2 separate regions of the Homo sapiens genome follow, and region 2 is linked to region 1. Evidence: promoter capture Hi-C in human tissues and cell types (Jung and others, 2019). All regions are on one chromosome and are shown on one strand. Each heading gives the region's core, a stretch centred on a gene start or on the middle of the fragment in contact. The rest is flanking DNA. Distances are from core to core; before and after follow the strand shown.

Region 1 (6,924 bases), core at 4,425-6,924:
GCTGGATCCAGCTCCTCTGTGACAGGAGGAGAGGGCAAGCAGGGCGACAGGAGGGAGCAGGGCTGTCCTGATGACCTCTGGCCAGCTCCAGCACTCAATGATTGAATTGAACAGGATTCCAAGCAGGAAGAGGAACCACTCTCCACAGTCACTGCACTTTGCTAAAGGAATTGATATTTAAGGTTACACAAACAGTGACAGGGAAGTCCCAGCAGTGACCCAAATAGGATAAGAAAGTCTGACCACCCAGAGATGTCAAGGAGATGACTCACCTCCTCAGAGTCATCTGTTTTCCTCGTGGCCAGGCCTCTGCAGACTGCAGCCCAGGGAGTCAGATGGATCCCTGGCTGCAGCAGCCAGCAGCCTGAGTTCCAGAGGCCGCCCCTACTCCCCTCCATTCATATGTGGTTCTTCAGTCAGTGAATCTGCACTGACAAATCCTTTTTTTGAAAAATAAATGTTAACTTCCACTCCAGAACCATGAATACCGTTCAGATGCTGGTCCCTGAGAGGAAGGATTCTCTTTCTCCCCATGGAGTGCAAAACAATCAGACCTGACACTGGGCTCTGCCCTCTCTCGCCTTTCCTAGCTGGGGCTACCAGCAGGCTTCCCCATGAGTATCACAGTTTCCTAATGATGTGGAAGAGCCAAATGTGATACCAACATGGGCCCATAGTTTAGAAGCATCCACATGTCCTAGCAGAGCCAAATGTGTTACCAATATTGGCCCATAGTTTAGGACCTTCCACATGTCCTAGCAGAGCCAAATGTGTTACCAACATGGGCCCATAGTTTAGAAGCTTCCACATGTCCTAGCAGAGCCAAATGTGTTACCAACATGGGCCCATAGTTTAGAAGCATCCACATGTTCTAGCAGAGACAAATGTGTTACCAACATTGGCTCATAGTTTAGAAGCATCCACGTGTCCACCATGTTTGAGGAGAGGGAGAAAAGAAGGAGGGATAGAGTGTGAAAGAGACAAGCTTGACCCCAGAGAATTCCAGGCACTCCGTAAAAGGGGCTTCTGGGCTTCCCATTTGAGAAGCCACCAAATCCTGTGGCTGTTCAGTCTCAGCTCCTACCATAGATCAAAGTGTTAGTTGCTCAAAACCCAGATGTGCAGAATCTCAACTCTTGGCCAGGTTGTCCTCACCACCTGCACCTGTAGGTGATGCTTTCTGTGTTTGGTCATTTGTTTATTGTAGTATTGCTTAGTGTTCACTTATTATTCATCATTTATTGCAGAGAACTTCTACCACTCACCTAACTTCTCATCCTGCTAATTCAGATAATAGGATCAGTAGTCACCCATGCAGCCTAGGGGAACAGAGCTTTCTCTTTCATCACCTAGCAGAAGGAAAACTTGCCCCCTCCTGGGCAGCTAGACTCCTCCAGGTTACATGGGTGCTGGAGGCCCCAGGCTTGTTCCTCAGTCCATGGTTGCTATCTGGCCCCCTCCTAGTGTGTCCTTAAAACTGTGGACTATAGAAATCAGGGAACAAAATGTTCTGTCATTTTTTTTGAGATGGGGGTTTCACTGTGTTTCACAGGCTGGAATTGAACTCCTGGATTCAAGGAATCTTCCTGACTCACTCTCCTAATTAGCTAGGATTACAGGTGCACCACCTCACCTGGCTATTCCATCATTTTCAAACATGTTGCTACATCACTGGTAAAGTCTGCTCATCTCTGCTGGTCTGAACTCCCAGACAATACGCTTTAAAAAGTAGCCTCTTTCTCCACACGCACAACAGACACAACATTTGCCTAAGGTCATCAAACATCTGGAGCAGCTGGCCAGCTACCCCCACCTGCCACTTCCTATCACTCCATACTGGACATCGCACTTGTACCTCCTCAGAAAAGCAACATACATTGGTATCTTTCCTACTGAGATTAGAGAGGTTGCTGCATCAGGACAGCTGACCCTCCCTGCAGTGCATGCCAGCATCCTGACACAAGATGACCACTGGTGGTGTCATCACATACACGGCACAGATCAGCACTTTGGCCTCCCTCCCTCACACTCCACCCACCAGCAAATTCTCACTATTTGGGTTACCTGTTTGGGAAAAGAAAGAGAGATCAGACTGTTACTGTGTCTATGTAGAAATGGAAGACATAAGAGACTCCATTTTGTAAAAGACCTGTACTTTAAATAATTGCTTTGCTGAGATGTTCTTAATTTTGTAGCTTTGCCCCAGGCACTTTGACCCAACCAGGAGCTCACAAAAACATGTGTTGTATAAAATCAAGGTTTAAGGGATCTAGGGCTGTGCAGGATGTGCCTTGTTAACAAAATGTTTACAAGCAGTATACTTGATAAAGGCCGTCGTCATTCTCTAGTCTCAATAAACCAGGGGCACAATGCACTGCGGAAGGCTGCAGGGACCTCTGCCCTTGAAAGCAGGGTATTGTCCACGGTTTCTCCCCATGTGATAGTCTGAAATATGGCCTGGTGGGATGAGAAAGACCTGACTGTCCCCCAGCCCGACACCTGTAAAGGGTCTGTGCTGAGGTGGATTAGTAAAAGAGGAAAGCCTCTTGCAGTTGAGATAGAGGAAGGCCACTATCTCCTGCCTGCCCCTGGGAACTGTATGTCTCAGTATGAAACCCGATTGTACATTTGTTCAATTCTGAGATGAGAGAAAAACTGCCCTATGGTGGGAGGCGAGACATGTTTGCAGCAATACTGCCTTGTAATTCTTTACTCCACTGAGATGTTTGGGTGGAGAGAAACATAAATCTGGCTTACGTGCATGTCCAGTCATAGTACCTTCCCTTGAACTTAATTATGACGTAGATTCTATTGCTCACATGTTTGTTGCTGACCTTCTCCTTATTATCACCCTGCCCTCCTGCTATGTTCCTTTTTGGTGAAATAATGAAGATAATAATCAATAAAAACTGAGGGAACTCAGACCGGTGCCGGTGCAGGTCCTTGGTATGCTGAGCGCCGGTCCCCTGGGCCCACTGTTGTTTCTCTATACTTTGTCTCTGTGTCTTATTTCTTTTCTCAGCCTCTCATCCCACCTGACTAGAAATACCCACAGGTGTGGAGGGGCAGGCCACCCCTTCAACCTGCATCTCCTTTCCAGTGATAAAAAAAAATGAGAGGATTTCTTGACCTTCAGCTTATCCTCTGCACAGCAGCTCTTCCTGAGTCTGGACTCCCAGCTATCCCAGGAAGGTGGGAGCCACAGAGGAGAACTAAGTCCTACCCTTTGGAGATGACCACTCTGCTCACAAACACCTGGTAAGGGACTTCCCTCTCTCTCCCTTCTCTGGGAATTTATCCCCATTCCCTGTCTAACTAGGAGCCATCCTGCGCAGCCCTGTTTGAAGACCTTCCCTCCATCACCCAGCGGTAAACACCATCCCTGGGACACCTGCTGTATCTGCTGGGATGCATGGTTTTTCTAGGTGTGCTGGATTGACAGTGGTGTGCAATGGTCACTGGGCCTTGGATAACAAGGTCCCCTGTCCTAATACTGAACATGAACACCAATGAGTAATATTGTTCCTGCTGCCGGGTCCTGCTGATGCAGCCCCAGCCACGGCTGAGACCCAGGATCCCAGCAGCTCTGGGTTGACTCTGTCTGACCCTCACCTCCACTACTCCCAGGAGAGTCCTCTGGATGCCATGCAAAGGCCCAGGGTTTCCTGGTGTTTCTCACCAAGCCTTCCACCTCACCACAAGGGCATTTGCCACAGGGTCACCTTCAGGCATGGAGGGTTGGGTTGAGAGAACAAAGGGAGCAGCTGTCTGTTCAGGGCCTCCTTCCATCCTCCCCAATCCTGGAGCCACATTCCAGCACAGGCCCACAGCATCCCAAGCTGGAGACTTTGTCACCCCACAGAGCACTGTGGTGATTAGGTCCTCTCAGTCTGTGGAGAAGGAGAACTCCCAATCCTGGCAATGAAGCAACTTGGGGGCCACTGGAAAGCCACGCTGAGCAAAGGACGAAGACACATCTGGGATTGCTCTGCAGGATTCCATTCCTGGGAATCTCAAGGGCAGGTGACAAAGGAGTCTACAGGACTGGACAGGGGCTGCCAGGGTGGGGTGGGCACGAGGATGAGCTGCAGAGGCAGGAGGACACCGTCTGGGGCAAGGCAGATGTCAGAGGTCTGGACAAAGTGGTAATACAGGTGTATGTATTTACAAAATCTTCCAGGTGGGCACATACTATTAGGCATCTTACTGTATGTAAATTCTACCTCCTTCAAGGCAATTTTTAAAATATCAGGTGGGTCTTCCAAGCAGTGCATAGAGGAAAGAAGCTGGAAGCATGGCTGCCTAGGAGAGAAGCAAGTGAGGCCTGTGGGCTCCCACATTCATCCCTTGGCTTCTGCTCCCTCTTCTGACACCCCCACTGCCTGCCAGGTGTCTCCCTGCACCTTGTGGGCCCCACCCACAGTTACCATGAGACACCAGGTCATTCCCTTCCCTGCTCACATCCCCTCCAGGAGCTTCCTCTTCCTGGAGCAGGCATGTCCCAATCCCACCTCAGGGCCTTTGCACTGGCTGTTCCCCAATGCCTGGGGCTTCTCAACCTCTCCAGTCTCATAGAGACCACCCTGACCAGGGTCCAGTGGTCTCTCTCTAGCCCCTGTTCTATTTCACTTCCAACAGAGTGAGTATAACTCCCTGATCCTAATTGTTGACCATAACCTATCATCCCCTACACACACTGTGTAGGAACGGACTGTACAGTTTCATAGCCACCTGCCACATGTGCCACGGGACACTTGAAATGGGGCCAGTCCAAAATGACTCCCAGGCTAAGTGTAAAAAATACACAGCGAATTTCAAAGATTTACAAAACCCCTCCAACAAAAAAAAAATCTCATTAATAATAGTTCCTATTAGCTGAAATAATATTGTGGCTGTATTAGGTTAGATAAATATTTTAAACATTACTTTCACCCATTTTTTCTCATCTTTTAAAATGCATCTACTACACATTTTCATATGCTCGTGGGTTCATGTCACATCTCTGTGGGCAGCAGCTCTGCAATGTCACCTCTATGGCTCATCATCCAGGTTCAGTATTCAAGCCCTAGACCTCCTGGCACGGGGAGTAGCTGGTGATAAGTTTTTTTATTGAATAATGAGTTATGAAAAGAGAACCCAGTGACCTTTTCAAAAAAGGTTAATTCCCTTGAATTTGGCAAAGAAATTCTCCATAATAGGGTGTGGACAGGGTCTTCTGGAACCTTCTGAAATAACCTCCCTGTTCCAGAGATTCAGAGACCGTGACCAAGTGCTCCTGGATGCCTCTGATATCTGAAGACCCCGGAGGCCAAGCCCTGTATTTTTCACTTTTCTGAGCAAACAGGAGGTCACATTGTTTTCATAGCCAAAGGAGAAGTGTCATCTCTGTGGAGACCTGGTGACTCAAGCTTGGGAGCACTGGGGAAGAGAGGCATGGCTCGGGGAGGCTGCAGTGAGGACAGGAGTGGGGAGGAGGGGTAGATAGAGGAGGAGGCCTGGGAGGGGCAGGGAGAACTTAGGCAGGGAGGGATCTTGTGGTTTCTGAGGAGTGAAAAGAGAGATGGAGAAAGAGGGAATGAGCAGAAAGAGGAGGAGGAGTCAGGGGCAGGTCATGGAGGGGGGTGGGGCTGAGCTGCCAAAGCAGGATAAATGCACAGCTGCCTGCTGGTCTGGGATCCCCGCCTCAGGCTCTCAACCTCCTCTCCTGCAGCTCCAGCTCTGTGCTCTGCCTCCGAGGAGACCATGGCCTGGCCCCTGTGCACCCTGCTGCTCCTGCTGGCCACCCAGGCTGTGGCCCTGGCCTGGAGCCCCCAGGAGGAGGACAGGATAATCGAGGGTGGCATCTATGATGCAGACCTCAATGATGAGCGGGTACAGCGTGCCCTTCACTTTGTCATCAGCGAGTATAACAAGGCCACTGAAGATGAGTACTACAGACGCCTGCTGCGGGTGCTACGAGCCAGGGAGCAGGTGGGTGCTGCCTCCACCTGAGGGGTCCTGAGTCCCAGCCTTGTTTGTTGCCCGATCCATAAGAGCATTCGCAGCACATCAACACTGATACATTCATGATCTAATGCTCAGATTCATTCAGCTTTCCCTGACTCTCTGCTTATGGCCTTCATGCCTAAGCATGCTCCCGGGGGATGGAGACTATGCTGACTCTGGATGGGCTTGATGCTGCTCAGGATGAGATCCAGGCCATGAGGCTCACCCTCCTCCCTGAGTCCTCTCCTCAGGGGCCACACAGGAACTTCGCTTCCTGTTCTGCAGAGCCCTACTTCACTCCCCAAGTCACACCCGTGGGTACAGCCCTTTAGGGCTAATGGCCTTCACCCTCAGGCCGGCTGACCACCCCCTACAGCCCAGGGCAGCTGAGTCCCTGCTGGGGTGGAGCACGCCTGACCCTGCCTCTATGAGTTGATGCAGAGTTAGACCTCAGCCAGATGAGGACAGCAGTTACCCAGTAGAGAGGAGGAGGTGTCAGGTCAAGAGAGAGCTTCAGAAGGGCTATTGGGCCCAGCTTTACCTGCATCCCATGGCAGAGCAGCAAATAGTGACACAGGCTTTAGAGCTCCTCCACCTTCTCTTGGAAATTCAAAGGAATCCAGACCAGCCCCATTTCTCCTCCTGCAGCTGTCAACTGGGACCCTCACCCTGCACGGGAGGTGCACTCCCTGGTGCCATGGTCCCCGCTTGCCTCCACCTCCCTTTCAAGCATGACAATAACTTGGAGTGAAGCACAGGGCATTGCAGACCATCAGGCCCGGACGCCTATTTTATACATGGGTAAACTGACACCCATGGGTAAAAAGAGTCAGTGTTCCCTTGCCCCTGAGCCACAGGTGGCAGAATTCAATGAATCCTTTTACCCAGCACAGAGAAAACAATATTTAAGAGGGGGCATGAGGCCCAGCACCCTGCCAG
Region 2 (6,924 bases), core at 2,251-4,750, 46 kb after region 1:
TAATGATGGTGGTGGTGATGATAGTGATGATGTTGATAATAGTGTTGGTGGTAATGATGGTAGTGATGGTGGGTATTATGGTGGTACTGGTGTTGATGGTGATGGTCTTGGTGGTGGCAGTAATGGTGACGGTGATGATAATAGTGATGGTGATGGTAGTGATGATTATGATGATGGTGGTGATGATGGTGATGACCATGATGTTGAGGTTATGGTGATGGTGATGATGATGGTGATGGTGATGATGCTGGTGATGATGATAGTGATCATGGGAGTGGTATTGATGGTGATAGTGTTAAAGATAATGGTGATGGTGGTAGTGATGATTGTGGGGATGGTGGTGGTGATGCTGGTGATAGTGATGGTGGTTATGGAAGTGGCAATAGTTGTGAAGATTATGGTGATATTGATGATATAGTGGCGATGGTGGTGATATGATATTTGATGTGAAAAGATAAAGCTCTTTGGTGCAGAATATAAGCACGAAGGCAGAGCAGCTATCGTTAAGGTTTTCCTCTGTTTGCAGGCTCATCAGATCTGGACTCAGGTGAATCTGGTCTTCAGACACCTCGCCTTGCATGGGAAACCGTTTTTCAGTAATGGATCATGTGTTCTTCTTAACCACAGCAGCAAACGTGGTTTTTCCATGGTATTCATGCCTCCGACTGACTAAGTTGACCATGAAAAAGAAGGAGATGGGTAGTTTTAGAAAGGGGCAGGAAGTAAGAGAGGGAGCACCAGGAAAGGGGTGAGGAGGAAGAGAGTGGAAGAGAGGATAGAAACCAGACTTGTCCACGGGGTGTCCACACGTTCATTGTCACCTGCCTTCAGAAGGTCCCTGTCTTCTGAGAGAGTCAGCTCTGGGCCTGTCTCTCCTTCCTGGAAATATCCAGCAAGGGCCCTGGGGAGAGCTACAGGAACAGAAGACTGTGCCATCTACTGGTCATCGCTCTGATCAATAAAACCCCACATGCCCAGGTAGCCCAGGTAGCCCAGGGCAGCGAGGACAGAGCCAAGCAGACGGGCCTCTGCAGAACCCGTACGGCACTCAGGGAATGCTTAGTTTACAAAACTCCTTTCTCCAAGGCAGATGCTATGACAACCCCAGGGTTACCTTCAGAGCCTGCTCCGCAGGGTGAGGCTGGAGTAGAGGCACCCAAAGGGCTGGTCATCCATGGGTGAGTGCTTCCCTCTGGTGGTCACTGTGGTGAAGTGGAGCATGCAGAACCTAGAGGTTCTCTGCAAACTCATGAACTGAGAAGGATTTACAGGGCAGGTGGCTGCAGGCACAGGAATTGCCCTGTGGCTTTGTGGTTTATCTGCCACATTTGAGCATTTTCCTTGTGATGTGTTCATCTTCACATGTGATGTTTCAGCATATCATCCCCTCCTTTATCATGGGGTGAGGAGGTTGCCAACTCTGCAAGCCTCTTCCCACTTAGTTCCCATTGGATACTCTCCATATCTTAGGGCCCCAAAGCCCACCATTCCTGCCAACTCTGACACAGCTCAGGCATCCTTCTCAGACACCCCAAATGGCATGCACACCTGTGCATAAACACATTCATAAACTTCAGAGTACAATGGAGTTTCTACAAGCTCTCGATGAACACTCATATAAGTGACTTTGTTCTGGAGACCAGCCATTGTCAGTTCCTTTCCTCTTGCCTGCCCCTGAGTGCAAACAGTGAAAGTATCAGGCAATGGACTTCCAAGCCTTCCTCACCCCTGGGGAAATGGAGCTCAGGTCCAGCCAGCAACTGCTAAGCACTCGGCCGGGTTGCTACTAAGAGAGTATCTGCTGGATAAACAGAGAAAAGCCCCCTGAGGAGAGTTCTCTCTCTCTCTTTCTCTCTTTCTCTCTCTCTACCTCTATCTCTCTGTCTCTTTCTCTCTCTCTCCCTCAACCCTCCTCTCACGCCCTGTGACCTCCGCCTGCTCCTACTCCTCACCTTTCAGGCTGTAGTGTGGGACAGGATGTCTAGGGCTATGGTGTCCACCTTTCACTCATGAACTGTGTGCCCAAGAACAAAAGCCCAAGGAATGATGGAGAAGATGGAAGGAAACCACCTGGGCCCCTGCTGAGGATGCTGCAACTCTGTGAACACCATTCCCACAGCCTTTGTTAAATAACAAGTGTCATCGTGGGAGAGGCGGCAAGTGTTTCTCAGGACTCCTGCTACCTGCGGCCAGGACGCTCCTAGGAGTGATGGAGCTGACACATCACTTAGTGTCAGTCCCAGAGCCAGGGTGGCAAATGAAGCTTACTGTGTGACAAGAACATAATTAAGCTGAAAATTACATGACCTGACATCTTATCCTCAACCTACCTCCTACTTATTTTCTTAAGAGTAAAAAGGGTTTCTGGTACCTGCCCAACCTTCCTCAACAGCTAGATCAAATGAAATTATATGAGTGAAAATATTTCACCAAGTCCAATACAGATGGATACTTTGGTTTGCATTTCACTAGGGATGAAGAGGGGGAAAAAAGACCCAGCTGAGTAAGCGATTTTTGGGAACAAGGAACTTTCCAGATGAAGCATTGGTTTTCTTCAGCAGGTCTCATGGGTGTGAGAACATTGAGATCATCTATTGAAGGGAGATATCCAATCTCCTAGACAAAAATTTTCCAAACTTTCACAAACCTAACACCCACTGTGGTTAAAAGGCAAGATATTTGTGGTGTGGGTCCTGACTCCACCATCTCTTGGTTAGGGTTCCTGGGAACCAACTCAGATGGAGATTCACAGGCAAGAGGCTCACTGAGGCATGTGCTGGGAAGGCAGGGGCCCTCCCAACACTTTGAGAGGCCGAGGCGGGCAGATGACGAGGTCAAAAGTTTGAGACCAGCTTGACCAAAATGGTGAAACTCCGTCTCTACTAAAAAAAAAAAAAATACAAAAATTAGCCAGGCCTCATGGCACGTGCCTGTAATCCCAGCTACTCGGGAGGCTGAGGCAGGAGAATCACTTGAACCCAGGAGGTGGAGGCTGCAGTGAGCCAAGATCATGCCATTGCACTCCAGCCTGGGCAACAGAGTGAGACTCCATCTCAAAAAAAGTGGGCATAGAATGCCTAGGAATACAATTTACAAGGCAAGCAAAGGACCTCTTCAAGGAGAACTACAAACAGCTGCTCAAGGAAATAAGGCAGGACACAAACAAATGGAAAAAAATTCATTCTCATGAATAGGAAGGATCAATATCATGAAAATGGCCATACTGCCCAAAGTAATTTATAGATTCAATGCTATTCCCATCAAGCTATCATATTGATTTTCTTTGCAGAATTACAAAAAAAAACTACTTTAAATTTCATATGAAATCAAAAAAAGATCCCATATAGCCAAGCTAATACTAAGCAAAAAGAACAAAGCTGCAGACATCATGCTACCTGACTTCAAACTACACTACAAGGCTGCAGTAACTAAAACAGCATGGTACTGGTACCAAAACAGAGATATAGACCAAGGGAACAGAACAGAGGCCTCAGAAATAACATCAAACATCTACAACCATCTGATCTTTGACAAATCTGACAAAAACAAGCAATGGGAAAGGATTCCCTATTTAATAAATGGTGCTGGGAAAACCGGTTAGCCATATGCAGAAAACAGAAACTGGGCCCCTTCCTTATATCTTATACAAAAATTAACTCAAGATGGATTAAAGACTTAAATGTAACACCTAAAACCATAAAAACCCTAGAAGAAAACCTAGGCAATAGCATTGAGGACATAGGCATGGGCAAAAACTTCATGACTAAAATATCAAAAGGAATTGCAACAAAAGTCAAAATTGACAAATGGGATCTATTTAAACTAAAGAGCTTCTGCACACCAAAAGAAACTATCATTGGAGTAAACAGGCAACCTACAGAAAGGGAGAACATTTTTGCAATCTATCCATCTGACAAAGGTCTAATATCCAGACCTTTGCACAAAAAGTGCACAAAGGATATGAAGAGACACGTCTCAAGACATTTATGCAACCAATAAACACATGAAAAAAAGCTCATCATCATTGGTCATTAGAGAAATGCAAATCAAAACCACAATGAGATACCATCTCATGCCAATTAGAATGGCAATCATTAATAAGTCAGGAAACAACAGATGCTGGCGAGGCTGTGGAGAAATAGGAAGGCTTTTACACTGTTGGTGGGAATGTAAATTACTTCAACCATTGTGGAAGACAGTGTGGTGATTCCTCAAGGATCTAAAACCAGAAATGCCATTTGACCCAGCAATCCCATTACTGGGTATATATCCAAAGGATTATAAACCATTCTACTACAAAGACACATGCACACATATGTTTATTGCAACACTATTTACGATAGCAAAGACTTGGAACCCAAATGCCCATCAGTGATAGACTGGATAAAGAAAATGTGGCACATACACTATGCAGCCATAGAAGAGAATGCATTCATGTCCTTTGCAGGGACATAGATTAAGCTGGAAACCATCATTCTCAGCAAACTAACACAGGAACAGAAAAACAAACACCACATGTTCTCACTCATAAGTGGCAGTTGACCAGTGAGAACACATGGACACAGGGAGGGGAAAATCACATATCGGGGCCTGTCAGAGACTGGGGGACAAGTGGAGGGAAAGCATTAAGACAAACACCTAATGCATGTGGGGCTTAAAACCTAGATGACAGGTTGATAGGTGCAGCAAACCACCATGGCACATGTACACCTATGTAACAAACCTGCACATTCTGCACATGTATTCCAGAACTTAAAGTAAAATTTTTAAAAGTGGGCATAGCATATAAACAGATATTTTTCAAAAGAAGACATACAAGTGGCAAACATGCTTGTGAAAAAATGCTCAACATGACTAAATATCTGAGAAATGCAAATTGAAACCACAATGAAATATCATTGTACACCAGGGAGAAAGGCTGTTTTTAAATGTCAAAAGACAGCAGAGTGCAGTGGTTCATGTCTATAATCACAGCACTTTGAGAGACCAAAATGGGAGGATTGCTTGGGGCCAGGATTTCAAGACCAGCCTGGACAAAATAGTGAAACCCTGTCTCTACAAAAAATAAAAATGTCTTGCCATGGGCCTGTAGTACTAGCTACTCAGGAGGCTGAGGCAGGTGGATCATTTGAGCTCAGGAGTTTGAGGCTATAGTTAGGTATGATCGTGCCACTGCCTTTCTGCCCAGGTAAGAGTGTGAGATCCTGTCTCAAAAGAAAGTCAAAAAACAACAGACATTGGAGAAGATGTGGGGAAAAGAAAAAAATTATGCACTGTTGGTGGAAGTGTACATTAGTGCAACCTCTATAGAAAACTGATGATTTCTCAAACAACTAAAAGCAGAACTGCCCTGTGATCCAGCAGTTCCATTACTGGATAGGTACCCTCTAAAAAGAAATCATTATGTAAAAATGACACCTGCACTTGTATGTTTCTTGCAGCACTTTTCACATAGAAAAGTCATGGTATCAATGGACAGATGGACAGTTGGATAAAACAAGGTGGTTTGTGTGTGTATGAATACTACATATATATATATATATATATACTCACACGTATACATATATATGTATATATGTATACGTGTGTATATGTGTGTATATATATATATATATATATGCACACACACACACACCCCATGGAGTAATACTCAGCCACAAAAATGAATGAAATTATGTTTTTTTGCAGCAACGGATATGGAACTGGAGGCCGTTATCCTTATTGAAGTGATTCAAACTGAAAATCAAAAACTGCATGCTCTCACTTGTTAAGTGGGAGCTAAACAATGGGTACTCACGGACATGCAGAGTGGAATGATAGACAGTGGAGGCTCAAAGGTGGGAGAGTGGGATGGTGGTGAATGTGAAATATCACCTAGTGGATATAACGTACATTATCTGGTAATGGGTACCCTAAAAGCCCAGATTTCACCTCTATGCAATATATCCACATAACGCAACTACATCTGTACCCCAAAATCCATAAAAATAAACAAATCCCCCAGGTTACACATACATAATTAGGCGTTTTATTGTATGTAAATTCTACCTCATTCAAGGCAATTTTTAAGAATCAGGTGAGTTTTCCAAGTAGTGCACAGAGGACCAGTGCCGGCAGCTTGGCTGTCTGAGGGGAGGAACAAGAGATACCCGTGGGCTCCCACATTCATCCCGCGGCTGCTGCTCCCTCTCCTGACACCCCCATCACCTGCCAGGAGTCTCCCTGCACCTCCCACTGGGCCCCACCCACAGTTACCCTGAGACTCCAGGTCATTCCCTTCCCTGCTCACACCCGCCCCAGGAGCTTCCTCTTCTTGGAGCAGGCATGCTCAGCCCCGCCTCAGGGCCTTTGCACTGGCTGTTCCCGCTGCCTGGAGCTCTGCTTCCTGTCTAGACAGGGCTTCTCACCTTTCCAGTCTCCCTGACCACGGTCCAGTGGCTCCATCTGTCTCTACCTCATACTCTTTCACTTCCAACAGACAGACTAATTTCCTGATATTAATTATTGATTATCGCTTTCTCATCCTCCATACCCTAAGGAGCAGAACCACTGCCACCAGCCACATGTGGCCATGGGTCACTGAAAATGAGGCCAGTCCAAGATGACATTTGGTCTAAGTGTAAAAAAAAACAACAGGGAGTTTCAAAGACTTACACACATTCAAAAGAATGTAAACTATCTCATTAACAACTGTTCCCATGTGTTGAACTAATATTTTGGATATATTAGGTTAAACAAGAAATATTATTAAAATCACTCCCTCTGTTTCTTTTTCCTTTTTTAACGTGTCTATTATAAAACTGAAAATTGCTCATGGGTTTGTGTCACATCTCTGTCCATGGCTCGGTCATCCGTGCTCCCTCTCTAGGTCCTAGACCACCTGGTACCAGGAGGAGCTGGTAAAGGGTTTGTGCATTGAATAAT

What was found. The method cuts DNA at HindIII sites, captures the fragments that hold promoters and counts their contacts. A contact is called where the count stands out against the background at its distance.
Region 2: a contact is called between a fragment that was not itself captured here and the fragment with the promoter of CST2 in region 1, in 1 of the 25 tissues and cell types used here (thymus).

Annotation. Positions count from the first base shown.
Region 1 is chr20:23,825,479-23,832,402 of GRCh38, reverse strand. CST2 (cystatin SA) reads left to right here and starts at 5,674. Exons shown (of 3, transcript NM_001322.3): 1 at 5,674-5,970. The coding sequence starts at 5,743. The HindIII fragment of the contact is 9,318 bases long and covers 3,198-6,924 here.
Region 2 is chr20:23,776,833-23,783,756 of GRCh38, reverse strand. No RefSeq gene overlaps it. Among named protein-coding and RNA genes, the nearest start is that of CST1, 29 kb to the right of the region's middle. The HindIII fragment of the contact is 9,889 bases long and covers 1-6,924 here.